Linked DNA regions of Homo sapiens: all the other regions are linked to region 3. The links are contacts of gene promoters, found by promoter capture Hi-C in blood cells and fetal thymus (Javierre and others, 2016). All regions are on one chromosome and are shown on one strand. Each heading gives the region's core, a stretch centred on a gene start or on the middle of the fragment in contact. The rest is flanking DNA. Distances are from core to core; before and after follow the strand shown.

The links. Contacts are between HindIII fragments. The CHiCAGO score rates a contact against its expected background, and 5 or more counts as called.
Region 1: a fragment that was not itself captured here is called in contact with the fragment with the promoter of LEF1-AS1 in region 3 in 4 of 17 cell types (non-activated CD4 T cells, activated CD4 T cells, fetal thymus and 1 more); the score reaches 6.9 in non-activated CD4 T cells.
Region 2: a contact is called between a fragment that was not itself captured here and the fragment with the promoter of LEF1-AS1 in region 3, in 7 of 17 cell types (non-activated CD4 T cells, fetal thymus, total CD4 T cells and 4 more). The highest score is 18.9, in non-activated CD4 T cells.
Region 4: a fragment that was not itself captured here is called in contact with the fragment with the promoter of LEF1-AS1 in region 3 in 6 of 17 cell types (activated CD4 T cells, naive CD4 T cells, non-activated CD4 T cells and 3 more); the score reaches 11.9 in activated CD4 T cells.
Region 5: a fragment that was not itself captured here is called in contact with the fragment with the promoter of LEF1-AS1 in region 3 in 9 of 17 cell types (fetal thymus, activated CD4 T cells, naive CD4 T cells and 6 more); the score reaches 19.8 in fetal thymus.
Region 6: a fragment that was not itself captured here is called in contact with the fragment with the promoter of LEF1-AS1 in region 3 in 4 of 17 cell types (non-activated CD4 T cells, total CD4 T cells, naive CD4 T cells and 1 more); the score reaches 11.2 in non-activated CD4 T cells.
Region 7: a contact is called between a fragment that was not itself captured here and the fragment with the promoter of LEF1-AS1 in region 3, in 3 of 17 cell types (fetal thymus, naive CD8 T cells and activated CD4 T cells). The highest score is 13.0, in fetal thymus.

What each region holds. Positions count from the first base shown.
Region 1 is chr4:108,439,440-108,442,754 of GRCh38, forward strand. No RefSeq gene overlaps it. Among named protein-coding and RNA genes, the nearest start is that of RPL34-DT, 180 kb to the right of the region's middle. The HindIII fragment of the contact is 2,709 bases long and covers 239-2,947 here.
Region 2 is chr4:108,533,563-108,536,596 of GRCh38, forward strand. No RefSeq gene overlaps it. Among named protein-coding and RNA genes, the nearest start is that of RPL34-DT, 85 kb to the right of the region's middle. The HindIII fragment of the contact is 4,477 bases long and covers 1-3,034 here.
Region 3 is chr4:108,165,608-108,168,894 of GRCh38, forward strand. LEF1-AS1 (LEF1 antisense RNA 1) reads left to right here and starts at 1,918. Exons shown (of 3, transcript NR_029374.1): 1 at 1,918-2,226. It overlaps LEF1 (lymphoid enhancer binding factor 1), which reads right to left. Exons shown (of 12, transcript NM_016269.5): 1 at 1,948-3,287. The coding sequence starts at 2,160. LOC124900752 reads left to right here and starts at 2,332. Exons shown (of 2, transcript XM_047416528.1): 1 at 2,332-3,287. The coding sequence starts at 2,893. RefSeq lists silencers at 1,279-1,518, 3,275-3,287 and enhancers at 1,396-1,897, 2,925-3,014. The HindIII fragment of the contact is 8,163 bases long and covers 1-3,287 here.
Region 4 is chr4:108,551,949-108,555,184 of GRCh38, forward strand. The region is part of intron 2 of RPL34-DT (RPL34 divergent transcript); the gene reads right to left. Among named protein-coding and RNA genes, the nearest start is that of RPL34-DT, 67 kb to the right of the region's middle. The HindIII fragment of the contact is 3,606 bases long and covers 1-3,220 here.
Region 5 is chr4:108,588,545-108,591,684 of GRCh38, forward strand. All of the region lies in intron 1 of RPL34-DT (RPL34 divergent transcript), which reads right to left. Among named protein-coding and RNA genes, the nearest start is that of RPL34-DT, 30 kb to the right of the region's middle. The HindIII fragment of the contact is 1,036 bases long and covers 1,228-2,263 here.
Region 6 is chr4:108,457,496-108,460,376 of GRCh38, forward strand. No RefSeq gene overlaps it. Among named protein-coding and RNA genes, the nearest start is that of RPL34-DT, 160 kb to the right of the region's middle. The HindIII fragment of the contact is 5,288 bases long and covers 1-2,881 here.
Region 7 is chr4:108,640,130-108,643,286 of GRCh38, forward strand. No RefSeq gene overlaps it. Among named protein-coding and RNA genes, the nearest start is that of OSTC, 8.9 kb to the right of the region's middle. The HindIII fragment of the contact is 8,651 bases long and covers 1-3,157 here.

The DNA.
Region 1 (3,315 bases), core at 343-2,842, 270 kb after region 3:
TGTGAATTTGATCCTGTCATTATGATGTTAGCTGGTTATTTTGTTCATTAGTTGATGCAGTTTCTTCCTAGCTTCAGTGGTCTTTACAATTTGGCATGTTTTTGCAGTGGCTGGTACTGGTTGTTCCTTTCCATGTTTAGTGCTTCCTTCAGGAGCTCTTTTAGGGCAGGCCTGGTGGTGACAAAATCTCTCAGCATTTGCTTGTCTGTAAAGTATTTTATTTCTCCTTCACTTATGAAGCTTAGTTTGGCTGGATATGAAATTCTGGGTTAAAAATTCTTTTCTTTAAGAATGTTGAATATTGGCCCCCACTCTCTTCTGGCTTGTAGAGTTTCTGCCAAGAGATCTGCTGTTAGTCTGATGGGCTTCCCTTTGTGGGTAACCCGACCTTTCTCTCTGGCTGCCCTTAACATTTTTTCCTTCATTTCAACTTTGGTGAATCTGACAATTAAGTGTCTTGGAGTTGCTCTTCTCGAGGAGTATTTTTGTGGCATTCTCTGTATTTCCTGAATCTGAATGTTGGCCTGCCTTGCTAGATTGGGGGAGTTCCCCTGGATAATATCCTGCAGAGTGTTTTCCAATTTGGTTCCATTCTCCCCGTCACTTTCAGGTACACCAATGAGACGTAGATTTGGTCTTTTCACATAGTCCCATATATCTTGGAGGCTTTGTTCGTTTCTTTTTATTCTTTTTTCTCTAAACTTCTCTTCTCCTTCATTTCATTCATTTGATCTTCCATCACTGATACCCTTTCTTCCAGTTGATTGAATTGGCTACTGAGGCTTGTGCATTCATCACATGGTTCTCGTGCCATGGTTTTCAGCTCCATCAGGCCCTTTAAGGACTTCTCTGCATTGGTTATTCTAGCTAGCCATTCATCTAATCTTTTTTCAAGGTTTTTAACTTCTTTGCCATGGGTTTGAACTTCCTCCTTTAGCTCCGAGTAGTTTGACCGTCTGAAGCCTTCTTCTTGCAACTCGTCAAAGTCATTCTCCGTCCAGCTTTGTTCCATTGCTGGTGAGGAGGTGCATTCCTTTGGAGGAGGAGAGGTGCTCTGATTTTTAGAATTTTCAGTTTTCCTGCTCTGTTTTCTCCCCATCTTTGTGGTTTTATCTACTTTTGGTCTTTGATGATGGTGACTTACAGATGTGGTTTTGGTGTGGATGTCCTTTCTGTTTGTTAGTTTTCCTTCTAACAGTCAGGACTCTCAGCTGCAGGTCTGTTGAATTTTGCTGGAGGTCCACTCCAGACCCTGTTTGCCTGGGTATCAGCAGCAGAGGCTGCAGAACAACGGATATTGGTGAACAGCAAATGTTGCTGCCTGATTGTTCCTCTGGAAGTTTTGTCTCAGAGGAGTACCCGGCTGTGTGAGGTGTCAGTCTGCCCCTACTGGGGGGTGCCTCCCAGTTAGGCTACTCGGGGGTTGGGGACCTACTTGAGGAGGCAGTCTGTCCGTTCTCAGATCTCAAGCTGTGTGCTGGGAGAACTACTACTCTCTTCAAAGCTGTCAGACAGGGACATTTAAGTCTGCAGAGGTTTCTGCTGCCTTTTGTTTGGCTATGCCCTGCCCACAGAGGTGGAGTCTACAGAGGCAGGCAGGCCTCCTTGAGCTGCGGTGGGCTCCACCCAGTTTGAGCTTCCCGGCTGCTTTGTTTACCTACTCAAGCCTTGGCAATGGCAGGTGCCCCTCCCCCAGCCTCGCTGCCATCTTGTAGTTTGATCTGAGACTGCTGATCAGATTGCTAGCATTGATCAGTGCTAGCAATGAGCGAGGCTCCATGGGCGTAGGACCCTCTGAGCCAGGCGCAGGATACAATCTCCTGGTGTGCCATTTGCTAAGACCATTGGAAAAGCACAGTATTAGGGTGGGAGTGACCTGATTTTTGAGGTGCCTTCTGTCACCCCTTTCCTTGGCAAGGAAAGGGAATTCCCTGACCCCTTGCACTTCCCAGGTGAGGTGCTGCCTTGCCCTGCTTCGGCTCATGCTCAGTGTGCTGCACCCACTGTCCTGCACCCACTGTCTGACACTCCCCAGTGAGATGAACCTGGTACCTCAGTTGGAAATGCAGAAATCATTTGTCTTCTGCATCATTCACACTGGGAGCTGTAGACTGGAGCTGTTCCTTTTCAGCCATCTTGGCTCCACCCCCCCAATCCCTGGTAATTTTCACTCAAATAATCGTTATTTGTTTTTATCTTGCCACAATTTTGACCTGCTCACTCAACTCTATTCTGGTCAATTTGGGTTAGGGTGATTGTCCTTTTCACCTCCTCTTGTAAACCCCTCTTACGATGGCCATTTTCTGCATAGAAGCTCGAAGAGCAGGAGTTTGAGTCAGAAGCTGGCATTCTAGAGACACAGCTTCTAGCACTGGCTCTGCCATTAATAGCTTGTATGCTGGGAGGCTGAGGCAGGTGGATCACCTGAGGTCAGGAGTTGAAGACCATCCTGACCAACATAGTGAAACCCCATCACTACTAAAAATACAAAAATTAGCCAGGCGTGGTGGCACACACCTGTAGTCCCAGCTACTCAGGAAGCTGAGACAGGAGAATCACTTGAACCCAGGAGGTGGAGATTGCAGTGAGCTGAGATCGCACCACTGCACTCCAGCCTAGGCAACAGAGTGAGACTCCATCCCAAAAAAAAAAAAAAAAAAAAAAAAAGCCTGTATGACCCAGAGCAAGTCATATCATCTGTTTGAGCCTTTGTATCTTGGTCTTCAAAAGACAAGGTTAGGCCAGATCATTTCAATGGTACCACTTGGCATCAAAGTATGACTTTAGAAAAGTGTCCAAATGCTTGAGGCAATGGGGAAAAGAATGAGGCACAAATAATGTATATGGAGTGCTCAATCCTATAAACCCGTCAGAGTTGAATTTACAATGACCAAAATTGTGGTGCTTAGAATAACTTACCATGCAATCTTTTGTATGGCAGTGTTAAAGCTTTAATTCTCAAAATACTAGTGTGCTGCAGTGATAATTATATTTGTGTAAATCAAATCCCAACTACGAGACTACAAACTGTTCTGACTGTGGAAATGGTAAAAGAAGGAATAGGATTTATACATATCATCTTGCAGTTTGGATTCAGGTGTACCTATATTTAAAGCAAATAAGTTGCACTTAAAAGGAAAACAATCTTGTTTATCTTTGTATGTCTGTGGTGGAGAGCAGCTGTAGTTGCTTTTCTCTCCCAGGAGCCAACCGTCTCTCCCCATCTGAGGAGTCGGTCAGTGCTTTCAGCCACTCACTGGCTTTTGTGTCTTTCACAAGTTCTGCCATGCTCCAAACACGGGCTTGGCAGTTGCC
Region 2 (3,034 bases), core at 361-2,860, 370 kb after region 3:
ATTTTGCTCCCTGAATTCTCCTCCCCCTCCAAGAAAACATGAACCTCGACAGATTTGTGGTTCATGTTATCTTCAGCTGTAAAAGCCAGCTGAACCAACAGAGCAGCCCTTCTCTGTTTCCTGCTGCCTAGAGGTTTCAAAAGGGCTACTGTAAAGGAACGGTTACCTCTTTGGCCTTATGGACAACTTTTTTAGAAGAAACAGATTCAACTAGAATCACCCAGGCTAAGAACTCTGTACATTGTAGAGTTCTGTGCAAATGAAATCAATTAATATTGGGAGTTCTTCCATGCCAATTAAAGAAAGGATGGGCAAGGACAGGAAAGTAAAAACAGCGCCTGAATGCTGCTTTTTAAAGAAGTGATTTAAAAAAAAAAAAAAAGTTCAAGGATTTGTCCATTTCTTCAGTGAGGCCCAACATATGAACTTCAGTGGGAATTTGGCCCGAGGATAGATTGCCACATCAGACATTGATTCAGTTAAAGCTAACCCATTTAAAGGTGTCACCCATTAATTTATTGACTGCAAATAGGAATTTTGCCCAAGGCCAGAACTCACAATTGGTCCCAGTTGACCTGAAATGGATTTCCACAAGTGGCTGGGGAAAGGGAGTCTCTTTTTAGAATGTCTCTTCTTTGGTCCACTGTCTCTTTCTTTATCCTCTCTCCCCCTTTATGACATTAATAACAGAGCACTCAAAGAGCTTCATTAGTCGAAGGCATACAAACAGCTGCTCAAAGGATTTGTGACTGGATTGATCCTAAAGCTGCCAGTATAGACATTACATGTCAAAAATGATGATGTGAGCTTATCAGCTGCTTTTCAATTTTGACATTATTCTCTTTTCATTCTTGCCCATTTCATGTTATTGATTAAGTGTTCATTTAGTAAAAGAAAATACTTTACTCTTACAGAGTGGCTCTTTGCAGTATGTTGAAAGTCTTGGTTTATACATGTTTTCACATAAATATAAAATTATTTTTTATTCCTGAAACACATTTTTAACATGCAAGCTACAAAAGAAAGAATATTAAAATAGTATTTTTCTAGTATATGTGCTGCCAAGACGAGCACTAAAATAGTATTTTTCTGTGTGATGCCATATGTAGCATTCTTAATCAATAGTCTCACCTAGACAGGAAAATGAATACAGTAGTCATTTTATGAAGCTGCAAAGTGGGCCAATGTTTTGCTAAGATTAAAAAGTGACTCTTCTCTCCAATTTGGGGGCCATTTTTCAAATTTTCTGTGGCATGTAGCTAAATTCAAGCTGCATACATAAGACCTGGAGACCCAAAGGCTAAAAACCAAATTATTTCTACCTTAGAGAAACAATTGCATAGGGTATACAAGGAAGCATATACAAGGATGCAGCATTTATTTGCAGTAGCAAAAAACAAACAATAACTTGGAAACCACTTGTAGATCATAGAGGAATGACTAAATAAGCTATGATCCATCTAAGCCACAGAACACTACAAAGTAGTTCAAAGGAATGAGATGGAGCTTGCATACTGATAAGGATCCATCTCTAAGACATAAAATTTTTTAAAAATATATTGTTTATATTAAAAAGACATACTTACAAACATGAAACAATACTACGTAGTTTCTACCTAGAAAAAGGTCTGTTAAGAAAATGTAGTAAACTGGGAGAGGTTGGGATGATTTGAGATTAAGAATAGTGGTGAAAGCCAGGTGCAGTGCCTCATGCCTGTAATCCCAGCACTTTGGGAGGCTGAGGTGGGCGAAACTCTTGAGGCCAGGAGTTTAAAACCAGCCTGGCCAACATGGTGAAACCTGTCCCTACTAAAAATTAAAAAAAAAAAAATTAGCTTGGCATGGTGGTGTGCACCTGTAATCCCAGCTAATCGGGAAGCTGAGGCATGAGAATCACTCAAACTCAGGAGGTAGAGGTTGCCCTGAGCCGAGATTGTGCCTGGGCAACAGCGCAAGACCCTGCCAAAAAAAAAAAAAAAAAAAAAAAAAAAAAAAAAAAAAGAAGGGTAGTGGTGAAAGGGGAGTTTAGCCTGACATATAATATTTTCAGTTTTTACAAAGAAACTGTATCCATGTTATTTATATAGTTCAAATTTAAGTCCTTTTAAACAGTCACAGTATTAAGTGGTACTTTAAAAAGCATTGACTTCTTGCATTGCTTATTTAACTAAACCCCAATATTGTCCTGAAAATCAGCTCTTTTTATGAGAGTTATTTAGTCCTGAGGTTCTGTTGTAAAGGAGCAGTGGGAAGAAAGAGGATAAACAAGCTAGAATTTGAATTAAACTTCAGCATGGAATAAAACACCAACTTCCTTCCTTCTCCACCCTCTCTTGGATCTGAGCCCATCACTGTACTTCTCAGTGGCCACCCTACGCACCCTGACAGACATAGAATTCTAGAACCACAAAGCACCTTACAAAACCTTTGCGTCGACCCCTCATGTTTAGGTGAGAGTGCTGGTTTGCTCAAGTTAGAATCTGTTGTTCCTCTTGACTCATCCTATTCTCTATAGCCTCATTTTATAACCCTTTTGGGAGTGAAATGGAGTTGGGCTCAGTCCTTTCTGTTTAACTGGACAGAACTCCTCTCACTAATTTCAACAGAGAAAACTGGTGCTTTTTCAGAGCTGTTTACTTCCATTCTCTGGGGAATTAGTTTGTTTAATTGTATTTTGAAGATTCCAGTTCTACAGAACTCGATTTCTTTAGTTTATCTCTCTTAAACTCTCAACTTCTCTCCCCCTCTCACTCTCTCTTTCTGTCTCATCTTTGCTTTATTTTTGTCTTCCAATCTCTCTGCTTTTCTCTGTCTCCATGTATTTCTGTCCCTTTCCAACCTTATTCCTTCTGTCATGAACATGTTCTATTTGTTTTTTGGAAAGATGTTCTACAAAGTAAATTTTTATGAGATAAATTTTAGTAATACTTTACTAATTAAAAATATCAACTCAAAAAAAGTTAAGACCGGAAGGTAGATTTAGTTTTAATGAAGTGTTCTTCTTTTACCTTGCTTTTATGTTGCTCCTTTTTAT
Region 3 (3,287 bases), core at 668-3,167:
ATTTAAACATAAACAAGCCAACCACTCAGATGCGGTCTTAAGGCAACTGCCCTGAGCGCAGTTACAGCAGAAGCTCCACTCGAGCTTATAACCTACTATGGCTGGCTGAGTGCAGGCTTACAAAAGTAGAACGATTCTGTGGTTAAAGGGAGGAAAATTAGAGAGTCAGGTTATAGACATCTAAAAGGTAGCCCAGTTGATATCAGTTTTGGTAATCACCATCCACCCAGACAGCCTCAAACACGTGCAAATCAGTGGTATTACTCCTTCACCCTCAGGCCTCCTCATGCCCACTTAACACCCGAGTGCTCTCGGATTCGAACGCAGTGTCCTTCACCCGGACCAGAAAATTGTGGAGAATATGAAGTGGGTGGCAAAATTATTTATGGACTAAGGCAGGACTAGCAAAATGGGTAGAAAGAGAGGCTGCTCTACAAATAGGAGAGTTTGGCAAAAAGCCTGTGTTTTGGATGTTATTCGGTTCTCTGGACGTGTGTCCTCCCTTTGACCTCCTTTTCCCAGCACACAGTAGTCACAAATCTTTTACGCGGGGTTAGGTGCACCCTACCCCCGCCCCCAGCCCGCTCAAACTGGATTCAACGGGTAAAGAACACCATTCTGTTCTCTGAACGCAGGCCCCCAGCCTTTCAAAATTCGTACTCACCTCTGCCATTGGGATAGAGAAGGCAGATCTGAGGTGTTCTTAAACGCGCTGTTTAAAACCCAAAATGTCCCCGCCCTCAAAACCACACACTTTCTTTTTGGGGGTAGAAAGATGCCATTTAAGGAAAAAAAGGTATATCCTCCAAGTTTCTTTGGAGGGAAAAGGCGTTGGTTAAATCATTCGGGTGTCAGGACTTTTCTACCGGATTTCCTCCAGAGGGTTTCCCAGTTGTGGAACAAGGGTGACCAGTGGAGTGTCGGGTATCAGGGTCCATCCGCCCCCTAGACCAGCTCTGGACTAGGCTTCAAACAGCCCTCCAGCGCGGCCCTGCTCCGCGCTTTCTCTAGCCAGCACCCACGTGTCTCTATTTACTCTACTCAGGTTACCAGCTCTATCGCCCGCAGCGGGCCAGAAGACCCGATAAAGCGCCTTCCACCCTGCAGGACTAGTGCCCGGCTTCCGCTGCTTCTCCGCCTTTCTTCTGCGTAGATTTAAGGCCTGATCCGGTCCCAAACCCCAAATAAAAGTTGTGGGTTTGTTTCCAAGTGATGGCGGTTGGAGAAAACTAGAGTTGGGGGCGGTACAGCCAGGGTGTACCCTTGCGGTGGGTCGGCTCGGCGCACCCACAGCTCCCAGCTGCTAGCCCAGGCGCTGGGGCCGCAGGGACTGAACCCCGCACCGCCCCCGCAGCCCGGGTGCGCGCCCCATCGGCCGGCCTGCTCCCCGCGGCCCGGCTCACCGGTGGTAGGGACGGCCCCGCCTGCCCCAGCCCACGCCCGCCTCCCCTTCCTCCCGCCTGTGGCTCTGCTCGTCTCCACCTAAGCCTTTGGTGGTTTAACGCACTTTTGCAGAGACATCTACCAAGAGATAGCGTGTGCACTTTGTTTTCCGTCCCACGGAAGAATTTATCAGTAGCGTTATTCAGCCCTACTCGCTTTAAAGCACGGCACCCCTCAGCCCAACAAAAAGACCGAAGGCGAAACATTGTGGGTTCCTGCCCGCGAACCAACCGTTCAGCCACCGAACCCCCTAAACTGATCCATTTGGAATAAGTTACCCTGCCCCTCTACCTCCCATCCTACACACACACACACACACACACACACACACACACACACACACACTGCGGACCGGGGGCCCAGCTACGCACACACCCCAAAACAAACGAGGGATCTACTCGGGACCCTCAGCCGGGCGGCCGGGCGCCTTCGTTCCCTTCCTCCCTCTCTGAGTTTCCCAGGGACCCGCCACGCCTCTCGGAACTGGGGCAGCGGCCCGCTCACCTCGTGTCCGTTGCTGGCCGGGATGATTTCAGACTCGTTCACCAAGGAAGACTTGATGTCAGCTAAATCGCCTTCCTCTTCGGGATGACTGATCTCGGCGAAGATCTTTTCCTTCTGAGGATCGCCCTCGTCCTTGAAGGGGATCATCTCGTCCGTGGCGCAGAGTTCCGGGTCCCCCCCGCCGCCGCCACCTCCTCCGGAGAGTTGGGGCATCCCGGCGGCTCTGTAATCTCCGCTCCGCTGTGGGAGCACCCGCGCAACAGCAGGAAAGACAGAGGGGTAACTCAAGGGTGGGGGAGGAAAGGAGAGTTGGAAGGGTTCGTGCAGCAGGACAGCGGGCGGAAGCGGGGCGGGCGAGCGCGGGGCCGCCGGCCGGCAGCCGGAGCAGCTGCCGCGGCGCCCGAATCCCGGCGGCCGCCGCGCTTTCCCGCTTCGCGGAGACCGACGCAGGCGCCCGCCCCCGAGGCCGAAGGGCACTGGGCGGCGAGGGCTGCGGTAGCTGGCGACTCCGGGGGCGTCTGCGCGGCGCGCGCTAGACGAGGCTGCCCCGGCGGCCACCCCGCGACCCCGCGTCGCCGGGATTTGCGCGCGGAGAACGCCGGTTCTGGAGGGAGCACGCCTCCCCAAAGTGCAGAGGAGGGTCCGGCGGCGCGTCTCCGCGGAAACCCTCTCCACTGTAGTTACCCCGGATGCCGACTTAGTAGTTTGTTTTCCGAGAAAAGAGAGGGGATCTGGGCAGAAGGGCCCCGTTTGCCCCAAAAGAAGGTGCAAGGATCAGAAGATAACGAAACGTCCACTTCCTGAAGGGTGGGAAAAAAAGAAAAAGAAAAAGGAGCCACCCACGCTGGAGATGTCCGTTTTAGATCTTCTTATTTTCTTCCCTTTCGCTTCGGTTTTTCTTCTCGAGGCTCATTTAATCTGCTAGAGAAGGAGGAGGAGCAGAAGATGGGGGCCGAGGAGGAGGGGAAGAGAAAGAGAAGTTTGCCAAGAATAAAGTTTTTGCCGGCAAGCGCGGGGACTCCGCAGTGGAGGGCACTGCGGAGTCTCGGGGAGTCACAGCGGGGGCCTCGGGCCCAAATGCCTCTGCCCGGAGCTCGAGCCGACACACACACTCAGTCCGACCCCTCTTTGTTCCCGGCTCGAGTTTCTCAGCCTGGCTCGCCGGCTCGCCGCTCTGCACGCCTCCGCCGGCCAGCTCTGTCAAAGCAAAGAGCTGCGCCCCTTGAGTTCGCCCGGCCGAGGGGAGGGGACGCCCCGAGCTTGGCCGCGTGCGAGGCTCCGGGCGCGTCCTGGTTCCTCGGCCCGAGAGCGCGCAGCCCGGGTCCCTCCTCCGCGCCCTG
Region 4 (3,236 bases), core at 168-2,667, 390 kb after region 3:
GCCGTGAGCCAAGATCTCACCACTGCACTCCAGCCTGGTGACAGAGCGAGACTCAGTCTCAAAAAAAAAAAGTGGGGGAAAGCACATGAATAGATATTTCTCAAAAGACAACCTACAAATGGCCAACAGGTATATGAAAAAATGCTCAAATGCTCAACATCACTAATCCATCAGAGAAATGCAAATCAAAACCACAATGAGACATCATCTCACCCCAGTCAGAACGGCTATTATTAAAAAGACAAAAAAAAAATGGATGTTGGTGAGGATGTGGAGAAAAAGGAAGTTGTATACTCTGTTGCTGGGAATGTAAACTGGTGCAGCCACTATGAAAAACAGTATGGAGATTTCTCAAAAAACTAAAAACAGAATTCAATCCAGCAGCCCCACTACCAAGTATCTATCCAAAAGAAACCAATAGATCAAAGGGATACAAAGCATTTGCATTTTTATTGCAGCACTATTCACAATAGCAAATACATGAAACAAACTTAAATACCCATCAATGGATGAATAGGTAGAGAAAATGTGGTAAATATACACAGTGGAATACCATTTGGCCATAAAAAAAGAATGAAATCATGTCATTTGCAGCAACATGAATGATCATTATATTAAGTGAAGTAAGCCAGGCATAAAAAGATAAATATTGTATGTACTTACTTACATGTGGAAGCTAAAAAATTTGATCACCTAGAGGTAGAGTGGAAAGAGATAATGGAGATTGGGAAAGGTGACTGGGGGAAGGAGAAAGAATGAAAAGAAATAGGTTAAAGAGTACAAACATGCAATTAGATAGAAGAGATAAATGCAATGTTTGATAGCAGAGTAGGGTGACTATAGTTAACAAAAAATGTGTTGTACTCAGGTGATGGACATCCTAAATACCCCAACTTGATCACTGTGCATTACATACATGTAACAAAATTTCACATGTATCCCAAAAATTTGTTTAAAAAAATTAAAAAGAAGAAGACAGCGGAACTAAATAGGGGAATCCTACATAAGAGAAAGGCAAAAAGAATCCCCAAAATGCAATGTGAAAGAGATATCAGGATTACAACTGTGAAGCCGCTCTAAGAACAGAGATCAAGGAATAGATAGATGTCTATGATTTTTAAAATAATAATAACCTTGCTTAAATAATTAATGTGTCAGAACATAGTGAGAAGAGAAGATTTATACTGTGGGGGATCGGGGGAGAATTAATGATAATTTAAAAATGAAAAAGAGGTGCATAGAATCAACACATTGAAGAGAAATTTTGCACTAGACACTTGTTAAAAATGGCAAGGAAGACTTTACTCAAGACTATTGCAATAGAGGAGAGAGATTGAACTCAATTCTAAATACAACAGGGATAACAACCTAAGTGACAAGAGTGAGACCCTACCTCAAAAATCAATCAATAAATAAATACAACAGGGATAAGTGGGAATATATATTCAAGGGGCATGATGAGGGAGTCATTGGATAGAAACATACTAAAGAGGGACTTGGTTAGGTATCAACAACATTGGGGGAGAAGAACTTGATTAGACATCAAGGGTAGGGAGGAGAGCTTGATTAGATATCAAAGGTGGTGGGATTCTCTATAAACTGGCTAAGCAGTATCCAAAGCTAAAACTAGACTTGGCAAGCCAAAGATTGGGCCAAAGAGAAAGTCTAGTCAAAGGAGGGCTCAGAGGAGCCTGACTACATTTGCTCAATAAGGGAGTCTTTGTCAAATGAACTATTTCCTTCCCTTCCTTTCTTTCCTTCCTTCCTTCCCCACTTCTTTCTTTTGTTCATCCTTTCTTTCTTTTGTTCTTTCTTTCTTGTCTGTCATCCAGGCTGGAGTGCAGTGGTGCCATCATAGCTCACCGTAACCTTAAACTCCTAGGCTTAAGAGATCTTCCCACCTCAGCCTCCTGAGGAGGTGGGATTACAGGTGCATGCTGCTATGCCTGGCTAATTTTTTTTTTTATTTCTGTTATTTTTGGAGATGAGATCTCAGTATGTTGCCCAGGCTGGTCTTGAACTCCTGTCCTCAAGTGTTCCTCCCACCTTGGCCTCCCTAAGTGTTGGGATTACAAGTATTACATGCCACAAGGCATGACTATCTTTTAAAAACAAATGCAAACTGTTTGCTTTGTTATTTTTAATACATTTTTACAGATTATTTCTGTAAACCAAAAATAAAATTCTATGACCCCCGCAACCATTTGAATGGACTCCCTCCTCTTGGCCAGGGCACTCCTAAGATAACCTGAAAGACTGGTTCAGGCCATGACGGGAATGGCGGATTGGACATGCCTCATTATGCCGTCCTCCCTTTTGGAATTCAGGAAAAGCTGACCAGCATTTAACATCAACACAAACCCTAAGTCTGATAAGAAACATTTGCAATGTATTCTCTTTGAAACTTGCTACCTGGAGGCTTCGACTGCATGATAAAACCTTGGACTGCACAACCACTTATCACAACCCAGACTTTGTTTTCTACTGATAAAAACTCTTTCAATCAATTGGCAATCAGAAAATTTTTAAATCTACCTATGACCTGGAAGTCCCCACTTCAAGTTGTCCTGCCTTTTTAGATTGAACCGCTGTAAATCTTACATCTATTGATTGATGTATTATTATGTCCCCCTAAAATGTATAAAAGCAAGCTGTACCCTGCCACCTTGGGCACATGTTGTCAGGACCTCCTGAGGCTGTGTCTCGGGTGTGTCCTTAGCCTCGGCAAAGTAAACTTTCTAAATTGATCAAGACCTGTCTCAGATACTTTTGGGTTCACATTTCACACACAGAAATTGTGAGAACAAATTTTTATGGAGGCCTAGAAGAAAGCACTATAAACTTTGCAAAATAAGTGCAGGAGAGGCAGGTGATAGTGATACAGCATTTCCCCCAATAATTACCCCCCCAAAAATGGCTGGTGCACTGAAGAAAACTTTAATTCCCCTACAGTTTTAACTAGGCTCAGCCATGAACATGGGGAAGGCTGGCATTTGTGCAATGACACTGGGGTTCTCCACTACATGTCTGGTCATCCTATCAGTACCTTAAACCTGCCCACAACCAGTTCCTAAAAAGGAAAAGCAGTGTTCTTTTGCCAGCAAAATTGGGGTTTAGTTGAAAGTAAAAGGATGTATTTGAAAAGTTATATCTGCCTTTAAAGAATAAAAGGATCTATCTTTGCACCTGATAACAAATTAACAAAATCTCAAATGGATAAAGCTTGTGTGATGAGA
Region 5 (3,140 bases), core at 496-2,995, 420 kb after region 3:
CTTGTAGGGTACTAAGATCAAGATTCTGGATATGTTTGGACATTGTTCAGCTGTGGGTTGAAGACTGGGATGAAGGTGCACTGACCTTAGAACTTGCCTTTGTAACTATTACTTTTTATTAAATGACTTATACTGCATTTTTTTTATGATTCCCCTATTTTTCCTGAAAGCCAAGTATAGAAGCTAATTCTAGTTAATTTATGGTTTCATTTAATTAAGTTCCACTTAAATGAGATTTTACTGTAACATGGTCAATTGTATTATGAATTATGAGATTTATTTGGGGCAAAGTTAGCACTTACAGGCTGGAAGAAACCTAATGTCTTTAAAACTTGAAAGAAGAGTCTTCTTAGAACTTATTTTCTGGATGCCACACAGGTCTGCCTCTTTCTGATGAAACCTAATTCCAAGCATCACTTTTTATCTCTAAGAACTCCAGCTCTGATTGTGTCTTTGCTTTGGTGACACCCTGGCGGTTCCTTTCTGTTGCTCAGAATTTGTCAAAAGAATAAGGAAGATCCTGATGAGCTCAGTCTCCCTTACCCACCACTAGGTCAAGCCTCCCTCTCTGAAGAGTCCTTCTCATCCTTATGCCTGCTTCCAGAGTTGGTGGGGTTGGCTTTGGAGCAGGACTTAATTTTGCCTCATTTAAAATCATGTGCTCAATTGCTTTCTTTCTCTTAAATAATGAAAAGCCAGCAAAGAATAGCTTAATGCATAAGGAAAAATGAATTTAGAGAAATTATTCATCTGCCTGTAAATAATAGCTTCATGGATATGAGGTAGCTAATTCTCGACAATATTAGGTGCTCTTTCAATAAAAGCAAGAGAAAGAAAATATCTCAGAAATTTCTTTGTCATGCTTAAAAGTCCTCTGTCCCCCACTCCCCACAATTCCCTGTTTTTTTTTTTAGAAGGGATATTTGTTCTCTCTTATAATCTGGAAATGTATGTGCCTAATTAAAATAAGATGTACTCTTTAAATGATGAAAATAAAAAGTGATCAAAATAGATTTTTGTTATCCTTGGGGCATTGGGAGTTTAAACGCAAACTGCATGGCTTGCAGTGTGGAGAATTAATTATTGGTAATTGAAGTTGTAAGCTTAATTCCCTGCTTGCTTCAATGAAAATGAATCCTTTTATTTAATATTGAAATAAGCACCACTAACCTCATGATCTGAGACAGCACATGCACTCAGCTTTTGAGCAACAGTGAATGTTTAAAAAGCTTTATCTTTTTAACACTGAATTGTGATTAAAACAAAACAAAACAGAAACACCAGCTTGCGGGAGTGGTATAAATACATTAGCAAATAACATAATAGATGGTATTTGGGTACTCTTAATAGATGCTGTTCTTATTCACCAGTAAGAGACTTCATTTTGTATTCAAATAAAAGTCTAAACCATTAAAAAATGCATTTATGCTTTTTGAAAACTTGTCCTGAGTAAAATATTTTCGTTGGCTTGTTTTGTCATGTTGAAGCAGGGTGACCGTTCAAACTGTTGGGCAGAAAAATTTCTCTGCCCTGTGTTTCTGCTGTGAGGAGTTCTTGTCTTCCTGAGGAAGCATTACAGCTAATCATGATGTGGACTTTGCCTCCTGCCCAGTTCTCTTGCTGTGTCTGTGCCCCTCTGTGTCTCAAGGAATGTCTCTGGGTATTTACACTGACTGTTCTGTGACTTAGATCTGGTAGATTTCCAGGCCCCCTATTCTATGCCTGCTCTTTGCCTAATTAACATCTACTCCTCTCTCAGATCTCAACTCAAACATTACACCTGAGATTAAGGCAAGCACTCCTCTCTTATATTCTTACCACAGTAAATCATGTTGCAATTACTTGTTTCATGCTTGTCCGTTCTGCCAGAGCACAAGTTCCAAGAAGGCAGGGTCTGCCTTGTTCACGGGTAGAGGTCCAGTAACTAGTTCAGAGCCTTGCATATATGGGGGATCAAGAAACATGTTTGAGTGAATGAATGAATAAATGAATGAATGGTGAATGAATGTTAATCAAGGTTGGTCTGAGCAACACTTGGCAAAATTCCCAGTTTATAGTCCTGAAGTATCCATAACTCTTACAATACAATTAATAATTCATTTTTCTCATTTTTAAATAGGAAATGAATGGGATTAGTATTTTCTGACTTTCTATTTATTGTACTTCATACTTAGTCCTCAGTCAACATTTCCTAAAAGACAATTTATCCATATTTCAGTAAGTAACATCTGTAATTGTGTAATAAGTAACACAAGAAAAATTAAGCTTGTTGTTTAATGTATTTATTAGAGAAAAACCTAGATATTGAAATTCCTTCAAATGAAACAGTGTTGTTTGAATTTGCTCTCAGTGGAACCTATCATTTCTGACCTAGGAGAGGTCTGTTCTTTAAGCAACCAGCCTCTGTGTCCACAAAGTTTGGTCATGGTTTGTAGAAAACTCCTTTGGGTCAGCTCCAAGGGCCAAGTTTGCTCAGATTGCTCAAACTTTCAAAACTATTTTTCTCAAAAGCACAGGGCTTAAATGAACACTTGTTTGATCTAAATATGGTTTCACATTGTCATGGAGAGAAAATAAAGGAGACAGAAGAACGCTTTGGTCTTTATCTCAGTATCCTGAAACTTCTACTTCATTCATTTTTAAAAAAGGAGCAAAAGTAGATCTAAATGGTTTTCTGGGTTAAGATGGTAGACTAAACCACACATCTAATTTTGCTGCTCTACAAAATTCCATAAAACTTGAGTAAAGTGATTTTCTTGAAAAGGTACAACTCACATGAAAAAAACACAAAAACAAAAAAAAGGAGAAACTAAAAAACAAAGAAAAAACTGGAAAAAAAAAAAAAAAGGCCGGGCACGGTGGCTCACGCCTCTAATCCCAGCACTTCGGGAGGCTGAGGAGGGCAGATCACTTGAGATCAGGTGCTGGCCAACATGGTGAAACCCCGTTTCTACTAAAAATACATAAATTAGCCAGGCATGGTGGTGGGCGCCTGTAATCCCAGCTGCTTGGGAGGCTGAGGCAGGAGAATCACTTGAACCTGGAAGGCGGAGGTTGCAGTGAGTTAAGATCACACCACTGCACTCCAGCCTAGGTGACAGAGTGAGACTCTGGAAAAAAAAAAAAAGAAGAAGAAAGAA
Region 6 (2,881 bases), core at 193-2,692, 290 kb after region 3:
GATCCAGGTGAGGTCACTTTGGAAAATTTGTCCACCAGATATACTTGCTGCTATGCTTTTAATGAATCCCCTCCAAAACTTAGGTGTTGCCAATGTGGTTGTATTAAGAGATGAGGCCTTTAAGACGCGACCAGGCCATGAAGGTGCCACCCCTATGAATGGAATTAGGTGCCATTATAAAGGTGTTTGGCAGAGGGAGTTGTTTCTCTCTTGCCCTCTGCCTTCTACCATTTGAGGCATGGAAATAAGGTCCTCACCAGATGCTGGTGCCTTGACCTTGTACTTACCAGCCTTGAGAACTGTGAGAAATAAATTCCTGTTCTTTTTTAATTACCTAGTCTTGGGTGTTCTGTTACAGCAGCACAAAATGAACTGAGACATTTGCACATATGCAAAATGATGTATGGTATATATAATTCTGAATTCTGCTATGTCATTCATTAAGACATTTTTTCTCAATTGGAAAAATATTGAAGTAAGCAAAACCTCCACCAATAGCGGACTAGTTAAATAAATTATGGTACTTCAGCCTAAAGGAATATTATCGGTTAATGTAAAGAATTGTGAAGAACTCTATGCACACATCTCTGTAAGACGTATTGCGACATGAAAAATGCAAGGTGCAGCACCATGTGTATAGTGCTCTAAACTTTATGGTAAAATGTGAGAAAATAGAGAATAGGTGCTTGAGAATAAAAAAGTCAAAAATAATGCAGCAATATTAAGTGTGAAAATTATCCACCACCTCTAAGGTTAGAAAAACACAGGGAAGATGTTGGTGTTATCATAACCTAGAAACTTGAAGGGATAAGCACATGGAGCTGGGACTCATACCTCTGAGAAGGAGAACCACCGGGCTGGTGCTGACATCTCTGATGGGAGTGGTGGGAGACTATCTTAGTCTGTTTTGTGTTGCTATAACAGAATACCACAGACTGGGTACATTTATAAAGAAAATATATTTATTTCTTATAGTTATGAAGGCTGGGAAGTCCAAGGTTTAGGATCTCACATCTGGCAAAGGCCATCTTGCTATGTCGTCCCATGGCAGGAGGTGAAAGGGCAAGAGAGCACATTTGCCAGAGAGGAAGGGGGCCAAAGTCATCCTTTATCAGGAACTCATTCCCACAATAACTAATCCATCCTGGCAATAATGACATTAATTGATTTATGAGAGCAGAGCCCTCATGGCCTAATCCCCCCTTAAGGGTCCCACCTCTCAACACGGCTGCACTGAGAATCAAATTTCCAGCCCCTGTGAACTTTGGGAGACACATTGAAACCATAGCAGTATGAAACCACATTGAAACTGAGACTGGTTCTGGGAGTGCAAGTACAAGCTGGAGATAGGAACAAATTGCTCCACCATGCTTCCCCTTTCTGCCTTTCAGTCTTCCTCTATTACTCCCTATTGGCAAAATCTAACAGAGAACGAGCTGACAAAGGAAAAATGTAGTTTCCTGAGTCCCAGCATGGAGTGTAGAAGGATGGGTTTAAAGCTGAGAGGTGATAGCTTAATAACTAGCACAGTAGATTCAATAAGAATGGCCAAGGTGGACATAGGATCATCATGTGGCTGTTGGAATTAGTGCATTTGCAAGTGATCATGCCTTTCCGCCATCCTCTAGACCTGCCCCTGCCCACTATAGCCTGGGATTAGCACTGGCACCAGGAGTGAAGTCCCGATTCACACCAGTATATTATGTCTTGTCTGTGGACCAGAGCCTCTGTGGGACTTTTGGAAAACATTATTTTTTTATTTTTTTGAGACAGGGTCTCACTCTGTCACCCAGACTAGAGTACAGTGGTGCAATCTTGGCTCACTGCAGCCTCCACCTCCTGGGCTCTAGTGATACTTCCACCTCAGCCTCTGAGTAGCTGGGGCTACAGGAGCACACCACCAAACCCGGCTAATATTTTTGTATTTTTGGTAGAGATGGGGCTTCACCATGTTGCCCAGGCTGGTCTAAAACTCCTGAGCTCAAGCGACCCAGCACAAACATTATTTTTATTTACTCTTCCAATATCATTTGTGATTAATAATACTGTCAGTGCATTACAAGCAAGAAAGTTGAGTAAGAAAAATAAATATTTCTAAATAAAGGATCTCCGTCCTCCTCTTCTCTCCTGCGATTTCTCCCTCCTACTCAGTCTGTCAGACAATGGAGGGTTAGTTGAACCAAACAAACAAGTGGTTTGAGCCACTCACTTGGAAGCACCCATTGGACCTTATTTGGGATGGATGAGGTGGCCTGGCATAGTCTTGGGGGAAATAAATTGGGACCTGCTCCTTAATCCTAAAGTGCCTGGCCTCAGGAAAACTGACATCTCAAATGCCTTCCTGTCTCCACTCTCCAGTTTCCTTTTTCCTGCACCCATCTTCAGGTGTCCAGTCCTGAAGGATGGCCCTGTCTCAGCAGCCAAATGAGATTTGCAAGAGGAAAGACAACAGTTCCCACCATCTTCTTGAGTCAATAGCTGAAGCTGAAGGCAAATAAAAAGCCCTGTGATGCAATTCCAAAGGAAATGCTTAGAGGAGTGGGTTTCACATGTCTCCTAGAAAGGCAGAATTTGTCTATCCCAACAAGTTTTTAAAACATGTTTGTTAATCACATCAATGCCTTGCCAGCTCCTCCCTGCCCCTTAATGTTCTCTATTCAGGTCAAAGAATATCCTCCTTGCACCGCCCTTCTCCCTGTGACTTGGTGATTAGAGGGACGACTAATTTAAGTGCATGTCCTCTTATCTTGAGGCAATATTTCACAAAGGAAAGTCTTAAAAATCCAAGATAAACTTATTTTTATAATAGCTATGATGCCAAATAAATGGCGAGCAGCCCTTTACTGAGTTTTATAGAGTAGAAATATCTTCAAAACAGTAA
Region 7 (3,157 bases), core at 568-3,067, 470 kb after region 3:
ACCCCGTCTCTACTAAAAATAAAAGTATTAGCTGGGTGTGGTGGGAGGTACCTGTAATCCCAGCTACTCAGGAGGCTAAGGCAGGAGAATCGCTTGAACCAGGGAGTCAGAGGTTGCAGTGAGCCGAGATCGAGCCACTGCACTCCAGCCTGGCGACAGAGTGAGACACAGGCTCACAGAAAAGAAAAAAAAAAAAAGGTATTTTATAGCTTTTGCTTTACCACCACCTTCCCTGCTCTCCTCACTCACAGTCTGTCTCAGCCCCTCGCTGTCTCTCATCTGGACTTCCACACTAAGGTCCTAAAAGGTTTCTCTGCCTCAAGTCTTTCTGTCATCCCATCTATTCTTCCAAACACAATACTAATCATTTCAAGTTTTAAAATCCTTCAATACTTCTTTATGCCTATATAATGAAATCTAAAAGCATCATGACTTTGAAAGACCCTGTCTAGTCAGGCTTCTTCTTTTTTAGGTCGCATCTCCACTTTTACTCCTCCATGATCACCATCACTCTGTTACCACCTTTGGGGCTTTCCCATCTCTCTGCCTTTGCTCAGCCTTGTCCGAATGCCTGAAAGCCTTTTCCCAACCGAGGAATCCAGCTCTTCTATCAATGCTCCTGCTCAAATGTGAGCACTTCTGTAAGCCTGCCTTTTCCCTACCTGTTTGAGAATTTTTTTTTTTTTTTTTTGAGAGAGAGTCTTGCTGTGTCGTCCAGGCTGGAGTGCAATGGTGCGATCTCGGCTCACTGCAACCTCTGCCTCCTGGGTTCAAGCGATTCTCCTGCCTCAGCCTCCAAGTAACTGGGATTACACACATGCGCCAGCATGCCCAGCTAATTTTTGTATTTTTAGTAGAGGCGGGGTTTCACTATGTTGGCCAGGCCGTTCCTGACCTCCTATTCCTGACCTCAAGTGATCCACCTGCCTCGGCCTCTCAAAATGCTGTGATTACAGGCGTGAGCCACTGTGCACTGCCTACCTGTGATAATTAATCACTATTTCCTCAGGTCTCTCAAAGCCCAATTGGCCCAAACCTCCAATAGGCATGTGCTTCTCAGGCAGTTCTGCCATAGCGTGTATTCTCCTCAGACTAGGATAACAGTTTCTTGGGGATAAGAGTTATGCACTGGTTATCTTGGCACTGACAGCATTTAAGACAGCTTGTTTCTGCTACATGATCCATAAATGCTTGATGAATGAATGAATGAGTGATGAACGTTGTCATCAACAACACTACTGCCTACTGTCTTTTTGTTTGTTTGTTTTTGAGACAGAGTCTCTGTTGCCCAGGCTGGAATGCAGTGGCGAAATCTCAGTTCACGGCAGCCTGCACCTCCTGGGTTCAAGTGATTCTCGTGCCTCAGCTTCCCGAGTAGCTTGGATTACAGATGCCTACTACGACGCTCAGCTAATTTTGTATTTTTAGTGAGATGGAGTTTTGCCATGTTGGCCAGGCTGGTCTCGAAGTCTTGACCTCAGGTTATCCACTGGCCTCCACCACCCAATGTGCTGGGATTACAGGCATGAGCCACCGTGCCCGGCCCTGCCTGCTGTCATTGATTCCCATCTTGGCAAGGAAACGGAGGGAAGTGTGTGAGATTAGGCGTATTTCCACAAAACAAGTATTAAAATATGGAAAGGAGTTGTAACATAGCAAAGAAGGCAGTAGTGAATAAAAAGAACCAAATTTTACTTCCTGTTTAGCTACTTACTTCTCTCTAGCTAGCAGTAAAGACAGCATCTTGATTGGCATAATGAGATTTGTTCAGTTTCTTAAACAATGCACCCTGGCTGCAATGTAGAGAGAAATAGAGGCAGGACATCATGTGGATCTGAATTAATAAGTGGTGGTGGAGGTAGAAAGGAGGGAACAAACTAAATAAACATTAAGGAAGTACAATTGCTAAGATGACACCTTGAAGGATCAAAGGAAATGGAAGAATCGGGTTCATTTATTGATTCATTCAACTTATTTAATGAGTCCTACTATGTGCCAGCACTGTGAGAGGTGGTAGGAATTCCATGGTGAAAAATATTTTGTCCCTGAATTTGAGACACTGAGTTTCTGATATTACAATTGGCTGTGTAATGGTACATAGTAATAAACATCCAATCACTCCTACTTGAATGTAAGCAAATATGAGAAGCATTATTATGCATCTCTTACAGAATACAGCAGTGGACACCTGGGTAGAGAGACAGATGTGCTGATGTAAGACCAGAAAGTACTTTGTGTTCTTACAAAGTACTATTATAAAAGTTTATTTTAATTACAAAAGTAATATATGCTTATTACAGAAAAATTAGGAAATACAAGTAGTTTCAAAGAAGGGAAAAATAATCTATAATCACATCACATAGACACAGTCATCTTTATGTTCCTTCAGACTTTTTTCCAGTGGAAAATACATACAATAACAAATAAGCCAGTACTCTACATACAATTTTATGGTCTGATTTTCTTCATTTTAAGCCTATTGTGGAGGCCGGGCATGGTGGCTCATGCCTGTAATCCCAGCACTTTGGGAGACCAAGGTGGGTGGATTTCTTGAGCCCAGGAGTTCGAGACCAGCCTAAGCAGCATAGTGAAACCCTATCTCTACAATAAAAAAACACAAAAATTAGCCAGGTAAGGTGGCGTGTGCCTGTAGTCGCAGCTACTCGGGAGGCTGAGGCAGGAGGATTGCTTGAGCCCAGGAGGTCAAGAATGCAGTGAGCCATGACTGCACCACTGCGCTCTACCCTGAGTGACAGAGTGAGACTCTGTCTCAGAAAAAAACAGCTATTTTGGACATCTGTCCATTCCAGAAAATAAATTTCCACAGTGTGCTTTTTAATAGCTGTATAATATTACATGGTATGAATGCTTTACAATTTTTTTTAATTAGTCCACTATTTTTAATTGGGTATTTTTAATGTTTCAGAAATAACTGAAGATCAGTTGGAAAGTTACTTCACTAGTTAGACAATATGTTTCTTAAAAATAATGATGTCTCTTATGGCCCATACTAATTTAGAGCTCTGCAATGAAGGGATTCTGGGAGATGTAGTTCAGCTTAGCTAAGTTAACACAATACAAATCCACCACAGTTGATTCCTTGTCAACTAAATATCTATATATACCTTTCTGAACCACATTTGGCTTGATTTTTTTT